2 separate regions of the Homo sapiens genome follow, and region 2 is linked to region 1. The links are contacts of gene promoters, found by promoter capture Hi-C in blood cells and fetal thymus (Javierre and others, 2016). All regions are on one chromosome and are shown on one strand. The core of a region is centred on a gene start or on the middle of the fragment in contact, and the rest is flanking DNA. Distances in the headings are between cores, read along the strand shown. Region 1 holds the start of NPAP1 (nuclear pore associated protein 1). Region 2 overlaps LINC02250 (long intergenic non-protein coding RNA 2250).

What was found. Contacts are between HindIII fragments. The CHiCAGO score rates a contact against its expected background, and 5 or more counts as called.
Region 2: a contact is called between a fragment that was not itself captured here and the fragment with the promoter of NPAP1 in region 1, in 1 of 17 cell types (M2 macrophages). The highest score is 6.3, in M2 macrophages.

The regions. Positions count from the first base shown.
Region 1 is chr15:24,674,358-24,679,890 of GRCh38, reverse strand. NPAP1 (nuclear pore associated protein 1) reads right to left here and starts at 4,116. Exons shown (of 1, transcript NM_018958.3): 1 at 1-4,116. The coding sequence starts at 4,023. The coding sequence ends at 553. The HindIII fragment of the contact is 3,995 bases long and covers 2,051-5,533 here.
Region 2 is chr15:25,487,116-25,492,453 of GRCh38, reverse strand. The region is part of intron 4 of LINC02250 (long intergenic non-protein coding RNA 2250); the gene reads left to right. Among named protein-coding and RNA genes, the nearest start is that of UBE3A, 51 kb to the right of the region's middle. The HindIII fragment of the contact is 3,038 bases long and covers 2,283-5,320 here.

The sequences.
Region 1 (5,533 bases), core at 2,867-5,366:
TTTCTCCCTACAAATATCTGGGGCTATCTCCTATTGCACCACCTGCATTTAGCCAGGTGGGCCTCAGGTGCTTTGTGTAAATGGGGGACCAAAAGTACAACCAGTCACAGCCGTTGTGTTGCTGTCCCTCATTGCATGGTTTGTGCTTTGTCCAGGTGGGCCCCAGGTGCTTTGCTGATACATGGGCACATGAGGGCCTTCTATCAAATGAATGTTGACACTCCTGGAAGAGGTACCATCTGTGTTTTGTCCAGGTGGGCCCTAGGTACTTTGTTGGTAGGTGGATACACAAGGGCCTCTAATTAAAGATATGTTGCCATTCACTGCAGATGCACCACCTGTGTTTTGTCCAGGTGGGACCCATGTGTACTGACAGAGAAAGGGAGCACAGGGATGTTGTTGTCCCCTCCTGGTGCACAACCTGAGTTCTGGAGAGGTACATGGCAGGTGCTTGGCATGAAGATGAAACTAGAAGCATGACCATACAAAAGGATAATGCTGGTATTTACAACCACAACTGATGTGGTGTGATCAGGTGAACCACAGGTGCTCTTACGGAAGTTGGAAACAGACATGTCTCCTAACATATGTTTCTTGTCCATAGTAGTGGGTGCTTGAAGTGTAGAATTTTCTCTCTGTCCATGTGTGCTGCAGGATGCACTGTTGAAAAGCAGGAACACAAGGGCCTCCAACTATGGATCTGGTGCCATCCCCTCCCATACCACTGCATGAATTCTGGGTAGGTGGGTCTAAACCAGGAATGTAGGCGGCAGCAGAAGTATATCCAAATACAGGAATGTTGCTAGCCCCTTGTGGTGCAGCAGCCATGCTGTGGCCAGTTGGGTCCCAGGCTGCCTGACCAAATGGGAAAACAGAAGTGGTGCTGGGTGTCCCACTCTGTCCTTGTCCAATGTTGAGTTCTCCTGATGTGGAACTGGGGCCTGGGGCAGACATGCTGAACCCAATGCTCCCACCATCCATAGGGGTTCCAGGTCCCATAATCACTTGTGGGCCTGGAATAGTATTTCCAACCAGTAAGGTACTGTCTCCAGTGCCAGGCATCCCAGTGGCAATTCTAAATCCAGAAGTCTTTGCTGTGCCATTGGGGAAAGCACTTGCATTGTGACCCTCGACTGGCTCAGCATTAACAGGTGTGCCCAATGCAGTATATGGTGATGTTAACTCTGCAAAACCTGGTGGAATTATGCTGCCACTCAGTGGCTGGACTGAAGGAGATGTTAAGCCTATAACTGGTGCTGGGGTTGCTGGATTCCCCAGAATAAAAGAACTGTCAGACTTCTGCTGCCCATCAGTGGCCCCAAGTGTGGAATGAGAGATGGATCCTGTATTTAAAGGATGGCTGGAAGTTGTGGTTGGTCTCCTATCTGCCTGTGCAGGAAAACTGGTGGAGACTTGGGCTGAGGCAATGCTGTCACTGTGTAGTGTGTTCCCAGAACCAGGAAGCCCCATATAAAATCGGATGTACTCCTCCTTCCTGGAGACAAAGGTAGACTGCAAGATGACAGTTTTGGAAGGAGGGGTGGTATTCATGTCACTGGTGTCAATGGCAGGCTTGGATAACGATGCTGCAGAGGCACTGCTCACTAAAGTGGAGGTGTCTGGAGGAACCATGATAGGAAGGCTCAGGAAATCATGGGCACTGGGGAGAGAGGTTTTCTGCTGCGGCCCATCAGGGGCCCCAAATTTGGGTTGAGGGGTGGCTCCTGGATTTAAAGGATGGTTGGAAGCTGTAGCTGGTGCCCTGACTGACTGTGCAGGCAAACTGGTGGAGCCTTGGACTGAGGCAGTGTTGCCGCTGGGTTGTGTGTTCCCAGAACCAGGAAGCCCCAGGTAAAATGGGAGGTACTTCTTGGAGACAGAGGCAGACTGCAAGATGACAGCCTTGGAAGGAGGAGTGGTATGCATAGCATTGGTTTCAATGGGAGGTTTGGATGATGATGCTGTAGAGGCACTGTTCACTAAAGTGGAGGTGTCTGGAGGAGGAATGATGGGAAGGCTCAGGAAAACACAGGCACTGGGGAGAGAAGCTTTCTGCGGCTGCCCATCAGGAGCCTCAAATTTGGGCTGAGGGGTGGCTTCTTTTCCAAAGAGTTGGTTAAAACTTGGGGTGGTATTGTGGAATATAAATGGAAGTGGGGATGTGTAGACTGATGTCTTTCCCGGGTGCCTCTGCTCTGCACTGCAATGTATTTGGGAATTTGGGAGAGAGCTCACTCTGGAGCTTAGGGAAGATGTGAAAATAACAACCTGAGATGGGGCAGTAGTATCCATATTAACTACTTCAGGGTCTACCGCAGTCTGTGAGGTTAGGTGGGCAGATGCGTTTGTTGTGACAGTGGAAATGACTGACGTGGAATTCATAGGCTTGCTGGTGATAACTGAGGTCCCGGTGGAAGGGACTGGAAGAAGAGTCAGGAAGGAAAGAGGAGGAGGGGAATCCACACACATAGATATTGGGGACTCCCTTGTGACGGGAGGCTTGAAGGAGGGTGTGGAGCTAGGAGGTGTTGGGGGGTCAGAAGTGAGAGGCGCTGCTCCTACGACTGAATTATAAGAGCCTCCTTTCTCATTAGACTGATCACCCAAAATGGGAACAAGGTCAGCAGGAAGAGCCAGAGGAGAGTTAGGGATTGTGAATGCTATTTTCTCATCCATTTTTGGTGTGGTGGAAAGTGGAGGGATAGGCAGGATGAGGGGTCCAGTAGCCAGGTCAGCCAAGTCAGGGATGGGCAAAGGAGCTGAGACCTGGGAAGTGTAAGTGGTCAGGGGCAGGGAGTCTGTGGTCTGCACAGGTTGGGAGAAAGAAGGGGCAGGCTGGGTGATGCTGCTGTTTGTCATGGTCTCTGTTTTATCCTCCAAGATTCTGCTATTCCTTTTATACTCAGGGCTCTTCTCCAAGGTGTGTAGGTCTCCCTCAACAGACAGGCAGGGGAGCTTAGCAGGTGGGGGAAGCTCACCTCGATCCCACAGCAATGGCAGTGAAGGGGGCAGCGGCAGCAGCAATGGAATCGACATTTTCCTTTTGCAGGGCCTGTTGCGGGCAGCTCTGGGAGGAGCAGCGCTCCTTGGAGGAATACAGAAAGGCTTCTCATCAGGCATCCTCTTTCCGGACATCAGCGGAATCGGCAAGCCTAGGGAGCTGGGCGGTGGCTCTTCATTCAGCACTTCCGCAGCCAACTTCTGCTGCAGCAGGGAGCAGCCAACGGCTGGCTCAGGGGGCGCTGTTGCATCCGGATCAGGCTTTCCAAGATGCCGGGCACATCCGGCCTGGCTGTGTGTGCTGGGCATGGCAGGGCCTTCCAAGCAGGAGCTCGCTGGAGACGCCTGGGCCTTCTCACTCATGCTGTTTTCTGAGAACTTGTGGTAGACATTTCCCTCCAGAGGCCCAGGGCTGCATCTGAAGGAGGCCACGTCTCCCTGGGTGCCCTGGGACCTGGATGTGGACGATGCTTCTCCGCTGCTAAGGGGGGTCCTTTTCTCGTCATCCTCCCCTTCGATCTGCACCGGATCCTCATCCTTCTTCACTCTTCTGGGCCCTTCTTGGGCCCACACCTCGGTCTCCTCCAGGAGAGTGGCTGGGATGGGCTTCCTGGCCTTGACCGCCGGCTCACGTGGTGAAGGCAGCAGGAGAGTGAACATGCGGCTGGGAGGAGGGATCCTTACGGAACTGGGGTGTCCAAACCTCGGGGGGTTCCGAGCAGGCAGCATGGGTGTCTTCCTGATGGCCAGCCCCCAACCCACAGCCGGCAGGACCCCCAGAGGGGCGGCCGCAGCCCGAGGGAGAGGACACGGCCTCTTAGGGGCGACGAAGATGCTGGCTGCTGAAGGCCTGCGACGGGCGTTCCGGCGGAACAGGCCGCGGAAAGGGCGCGGGGTGGGTACAGAGTGAGCCCGACCGGGCGGGGAGGCGTCCCGGGACAGGGGAGCGGGGGCGCCACGCCCTGGCCCTGGCAGGGGCCGGCGGCGGCACCCGGGTCTAAATTTACTAAGTAAATTGCCCATTTAGAGCTAGCCGTGCCTCCTACCGTAAAACAGGGTCAGCAGTGGACTCAACTCTCCTCAGCCACCGCCTCCTCTGGCGACCAAGCACAAACTGACTGGCTCTACGCCTGCGACGCCGCCGCGAGGTTCCTCACAGAACCAGGGAGCGCCAGCGGGGGCGCAAAAGGCAGGGGTCAGAGGGCAAAGGGCGACGCCCCGTCGGCCCCAGCTGCCCCAGGACCCCCGGAAGCCCCGCTGCCGGTGGCAGGTGTTGCACCGCGTGGCCTCTATGAGGGAACTGCTGGGGCCTGCGGGCCCATCGCCAGAGCTCTTGTCACCTGGGCGCCGGCTCTGCCTGTTCCTTAGCCCTGGCCCGGCGCTGTTGCACGCAGTGGCCCTGTGTCGGCCGTCCCCATTCCCCGGTTCACAGAGGGCACATCTGCTTCAAGTTAAGCACAGGACAACCTATATCCTGCCAGCCTCCTCTAGGACCTTGGCAGTGCTCTGTGCTGCCTGGAGCCAGGTGTGCCGTCTCTGTGGCGCCAGGGTCACCAGCCAGGCCGTGAGGGTTTCCGAGGAGGGGACGTGGTGCCTTGTCCTGACTAGATGCTACGCCCTACCACATCTCTTCCTGGCAGGCAGGGCCTCTTCACTTCTTTTCACAAATTTGTTTTAAACAACATTTAAGGCTGGGCGCGGTGGCTCACGCCTTTAATCCCAGCACTTTGGGAGGCCAAGGCGGGTGGATCACCTGAGGTCAGGAGTTCGAGACCAGCCTGACCACCATGGTGAAACCCCATCTCTACTAAAAATACAAAAATTAACTGAGCGTGGTGGCACGCACTTGTAATCCCAGCTACTAGGGAGGCTGAGGCAGGAGAATCGCTTGAAAGCGGGAGGTGGAGGTTGCAGTGAGCTGAGATCACCTCACTGCACTCCAGCCTGGGGGAACAGAGCAAAACTCTTGTCTCAAACAAAAACAAAAACAAAAAACCACAACAAACAACAGCAACAACATTTAAGCCTTAGGCTGCTTGCTCCTTGGGTCATTGATATGACAGTGGCCTAGCCAGGCTTCGAACCTGGGCTGTGTGATTCCAGAGCTGGTGCCGTGGCCTGTGTGCCTCCTTGTTATGGACACATCATGTATTCTCATTATTTCCTGTAGTCCTTAGGGTACCTAGCACACAGCACATCTGTATTAAGCACATGCGTTCCTAGGGGGAAGCCCTTACTTCACCTCATAAGTTGGTCATGGCAGGCACTGGGCTCCAGTCTCCTCTGAAGACATGGGGCAGCGACCCCCAATAGTCAGCAAAGCAGCATCCCACACTGTTCTTCTAATTGAGCCTTGCAGCCCAGATTTCCTTTTTGGTCTAGTTTGAAGGATCTAAATATGTAAAGATTATAGTCCAGATCCATTTTGGCCTATCCCGAAAGAAATTCACCAGTGGATTAATCCAAATGGATAAGCCAGTTCTCTGGCCTTCTTGGAATATGTTAGAAAGCAAATTCATCATGTATTTGCAAG
Region 2 (5,338 bases), core at 2,552-5,051, 810 kb before region 1:
TCCTTTCAGTGACAATTTTTAGTTTTCAGTGTACAAGTCTTGAACTTGTATAATTCTTTGATTAAATTTATCCTAAATTATTTTCTTTTTAATTCTATTAGAATAGAATTGTTTTTCTTAATTTCATTTTCACATTGTTCATTGTTAGTGCCTAGAAATACAACTGATTTTTGTATATTGACCTGGTATCCTGCAAAGTAGGAGAACTTGTTTGCTAGTTCTAATAGTTTTAAAAATATATTATTTCTAGCATTTTCATGTCATCTAGAATAGAAATAGTTTTACTTCTTTCTATCTACTCTGAAAGCATTTTATTTCTCTTTCTTGCTTGATTGCCCAGGCTAGAATTTCCAGTACAATGTTAAATAGAAGTAAACATCCTTGTTTTGTTCACGATCTTATGTGGAAAGTATTCAGTCTTTTACCATTAAGTACAATATGACTTCTGAATTTTTCATAGGCTTCTTTATTTGGAAGAGGAATTTGTATTCTGTTTGTTGAGTGTTTTTTTTTTAAAGAAAGGCTGTTGGATTTTGTCCAATGCTTTTTCTGTGTCTATTCAAATTATCATGTGATTTTTGTTCTTTATTTTATTAATATGGTGTACTAAGTTGATTGATTTTTTAATGTTAAGCCAACATTTATCCTGGGGAAATTCCCATGTGGTCATGGTCATTCTCATCCTTTTTACATATTCTGGATGTGAATTGCTAGTAATTCAGAATTTTTGTGTCAATATTCACAATGGATATCAGTCTGTAGTTTTCTTATGCTGTCTTTGTCTGGTTTTAGCACTGGGGGTAATATTGTCCTTATAGACTAAGTGGGTAAATTCCTTACCACTTTGAAAGAGTGGGGGAGATGAGTATTCTACTTTTTGAAAGAGTATGTAGGAGACGAGTATTCTTTTTTGCATAATTGGTAGAATTTGCCAGTGAAGCCACCTGGGCCTAGAATTTCCTTTGTGAGAAGTTTTCAAATTATTAACTCAATGTCTGTACTTTTAATAGATCTATTTATATTTTCTATTTCTTCCTGAGTCAATTTTAGCACTTGGCATCTTTATAGGAATTTGTCCATTTTATCCAGATTATCTAATTTGTTGGCATAGAGTTTGTTTGTTTCGTTTTGTTTTGTTTTTGAGATGGAGTTTCACTCTTGTTGCCCAGGCTGGAGTGCAATGGCACAATATTGGCTCACTGCAACCTCCATCTCCTGAGTTCAAGCGATTTTCCTGCCTCAGCCTCCTGAGTAGCTGGAATTACAGGCATGTGCCACACGCCCAGCTAATTTTTGTATTTTTAGTAGAGACAGGGTTTCTCCATGTTGGTCAGGCTGGTCTCGAACTCCCAACCTCAGGTGATCTGCCCACCTCAGCCTCCCAAAGTGCTGGAATTATAGGTGTGTGCCACCGTGCCAGGCCCGGCATACAGTCTTTATACTTTCCCTTATAATCTTTTTATTTCTGTGAGGTTGGCTTTTTATTTTAAGACTTGAGTCTTCTCTTTTTTTTTTCTTGCATAGTCTACCTAATGCTTTATATACCTAATGGTCAATTAGGTCTATTTGTGTCACAGTGTTGTTAAAATGTTCTATTTCCTTCTTAGTATTCAGCCTAGTTGTTCTATTCACTATTGAAAGGGAGATATTAAAGTTTCCAACTATTGCTGAGTTGTCTATTTCTCCCTTCTGTCAGTTTGCTTCATGTATTTTAAAATTTGTGTTGTTAGGTACAGATATGTTTATTATTATTGTGTTTTCCAGAGGGATCACTACCACTTTGTCACTTATCCTTTGTGTTTAGTAACAAGTTTTGTCTTAAAAACTATTTTTCTTGATATTGGTATAGACACTTCAGCTCTATTTTGGCTACTGTTTGCATTGTATCCCTTTTTCCATCATTTTACTTTTAATGTATTTGGTTTTCAAATCTAAACTGTATCTCTTATAGACAGAATAGAATTGGATTATATTATTTCTTCTGCCAGTCACTGTCTTTTACCTGATGTATTAATTAATCATTTATATTTAATGTAGTTACTGATAAGGTGAGATTTATGTCTGCCATTTTGCTACTTGTTTTCCACATGCTTTATGTGGTTTCTGTCCCTGTACATGCCCATTAATATCTTATTATAGTAATATATATTTCTAGTGTACAACTTTAATTTCTTTGTTGTTCCTTTTACTATGTATTTTTTTAGTTATTTTTGAGTGGTTAATAACATAGTAACAATATCTTTCAGATTAAACTAACTTAATTGTAATGGTATTCAAAAGCTTCATTTAAATATAGCTCCATTCTCCTTTCATTGTGCATCATGGAAACTATATACATTAAAAGCTCATCAACAAAGTTTTATAATTATTGCTATGTGGAGTTGTCTTTTAAATCAGAAAGTAAAGTGTTACAAACTCATGCGGATTCAAGTTACTAATAAATATCACTTAATTTCAGCCTGCAATACTTCCTTCAGTGTTTCTTGGGGAGCAGGTCATCTACCACTGAACTTTCTCAGTTTTGTTTTTGGGGTTTTTTTGAGACAGAGTCTTGCTCTGTTGCCCAGGTGGGAGTGCAGTGGTGTGATCTCAGGTCACTGCAACTTCTGCCTTGCAGGTTCAAATGATTCTCCTGCCTCAGCCTCCCACGTAGCTGGGACTACAGGTACCTGCCACCACACCCAGCTAATTTTTAGTAGAGATGGGGTTTCACCATGTCTGCCAGGCTGGTCTCAAACTCCTGACCTCAAGTGATCCTCCTGCCTCAGCCTCCCAAAGTGCTGGGATTACAGGCATGAGCCACCACACCTGGCCTCAGTTTTTTAAAATCTACAGCAGCTTTAATTTATCCTTTATATATAAAAGATAGTTTTGCTGGATATAGAATTCTTGATTGACATTCTTTTTCTTTTGGCACTTTGAATATGTCATTTCATTGCATTCTCATCTCTATGATTTTTTTATGGAAAGCTAGCTATTAATCTTATTATAGATCACTTGCATGTAATGAGTCATTTTTCTCTGTCTTCAGTATTCCTTATTTGTCTTTTAACAGTTTTGCCTATTATATGTGTAAGTGTAGATTTCTTTCAGTTTATCTAATTTGATATTCTTGGATATGAACATAAATGCTTCCATCAAAATTGGGATGTTTTGGTCATTGTTTTCCTCAAGTATTCCTTCTCCTCCTTTTTCTCATTTCTCTCATTCTTGGACTGCCTTTATGGGTAGGTTGGTGTGCTTGATGGTGTCCCATAGGTATTTATGACTGTTAATTTTTCTTCATTCTTTTATATATTTCTGTTTCCCAGGCTGCATAATCTGAATTGACCTATTTTCAAACTCATTGATTCTTTCTTCTGTAAGATTAAATCTTCTGTTGAAACCCTCTAAGAAATTTTACATTTCATTATGATAGTTTTATTTATGTTTTGATTAATTAATTAATTAATTTTGAGACAGAGTCTTGCTCTGTCATCCAGGCTGGAGTGCAATGGTGTGATCTTGGCTCACAGCAACCTCTGCCTCCCAGCTTCAAGCAATTCTTCTGCCTCAGCCTCCCAAGTAGGTGGGATTATAGACACCTGCCACCACGCCTGGCTAATTTTTTGTATTTTTAGTAGAGATGGGATTTCTCCATGTTGGCCAGGCTGGTCTTGAACTCCTAACCTCAGGTAATCCACCTGATTTGGCCTCCCAAAGTTCTGGGATTACAGGCATGAGCCACTGCACCTGGCCTCATCTTATCTTAAGCTAAAACTTAAGATAGTTTTAGCTCTACAGTTGCCATTTGATTCTTTTATTATTCTCCAGATGGAAATTAAGAGAAATAAAGTGAAAAATGGAAAATTTGGGGCAAAGTTTAATGTGGAAGGACTCTCACAATGACCTTACGGTTTTTATTCTCTGGCTTGGCCAAAATGTAAATGGAAGTGGATGTGTCAGCCTCTTTACTCCATTCTCTGGCCAACTGTCCCTTTTTTAGTCCTGAAGAGGAAGACTTATTTCCTTCCTCAGCTTACTTCTTCCTATCTGCGAGTCTATTTCCTTTGAAAATGGTAAACTTTCTGTTAGCAAATGCTAAATGTGAGCAAAAGTGTTTCTTTCCCACACTTGAATCTTCAGTGGCTAGGCCACTGCCCAGTAAATACTAGCTGCTCAACAATTTTTTATTAAATAAAATGCACTATCTTTGTGGGTACATTCCCTTATAATTTAACTTATTAAAATTTTACCACCAGAATAGTAGGTTGACAATCCCTATGAATCTACCTTTCCATCAGAGCAATAAACACAGTAGCCAAAATTGTCAAAAAATCAGTTATTTAAGAGATCTTGAAATTAACCAAAGGTTTACAGTAATCTGAGGAGAGTTTGTTCCAGAAAAACTGCTGAAAGTGGGAAAGAACAGAGGGTTTATGGCATTGTAACATAATCTAGCCCCATATCCCTCTGTCTAGCTATACAATAGACTTGAAAACTATCTGGAGAATAATACAATTCTTAAAATAAAAAGTCTACAGTATGCCTTGATCAGAACAGCAGAAAAGGACCAATATGTACAGAGGAAAAAACTATTCTATTGCTAGATTTAGGGACACTGAAATGTCAAGTATAAAAAGTAGGTGACAGGAAGCAGAAAATAAAGCTAGAAAGATAAAAAAGACAATAGGCTGGATGCTATAGGTGTCTCCTTAATAGAAAAGGGTGCTTAGGGACAGCCATGGATGGATAATTTGTTTCAGGGGTTTAACTGGCCACAGGTCTCTGTATTTCCATGATTCAGGGGGTGTATGAGTCACTCTAATTTCATTTTAAAGTGATTTCACTTTCACCAATTCAATATTGCAAAAATACACGGATTGCTTCCTTACAATTTGACAGAAAGTATTTCTGCATCTTTATTAAATGACCAGATCTTTTCCTCAGTAATAAATCGTATTAAAAGCATTGGAGAAAGTGTCAAGGCCAGCTTAATCTAAGAAACATCATCCAGCAATAACACAAGTGCTGTGATGTTACCTAAACGTCCTCAGCAGAAACTCAATTTCCTTCCTCTAGGATGTATTCAGTTTCCTTGCTTGTGGCCTTGTTCACACCCAGAGGCTGTATTACGGTCTGGTTCAAGATAAGCTGATTCCATTACTGGCCTATGGAGAACTCAATACAACGCTATAGGATGGAGACAGAAATTTACAGAAGAATGACAAAGAAATGCAAAATCTATGAACAGAAATAATTTGGGGATAAGCACAAAGCCACCAAGTCAATAATCCTTAATGTTAGAATCCATCCTGGAGGCGCAGACAGAAGGAAAGCTTTTCTCTGGCAATTGAAA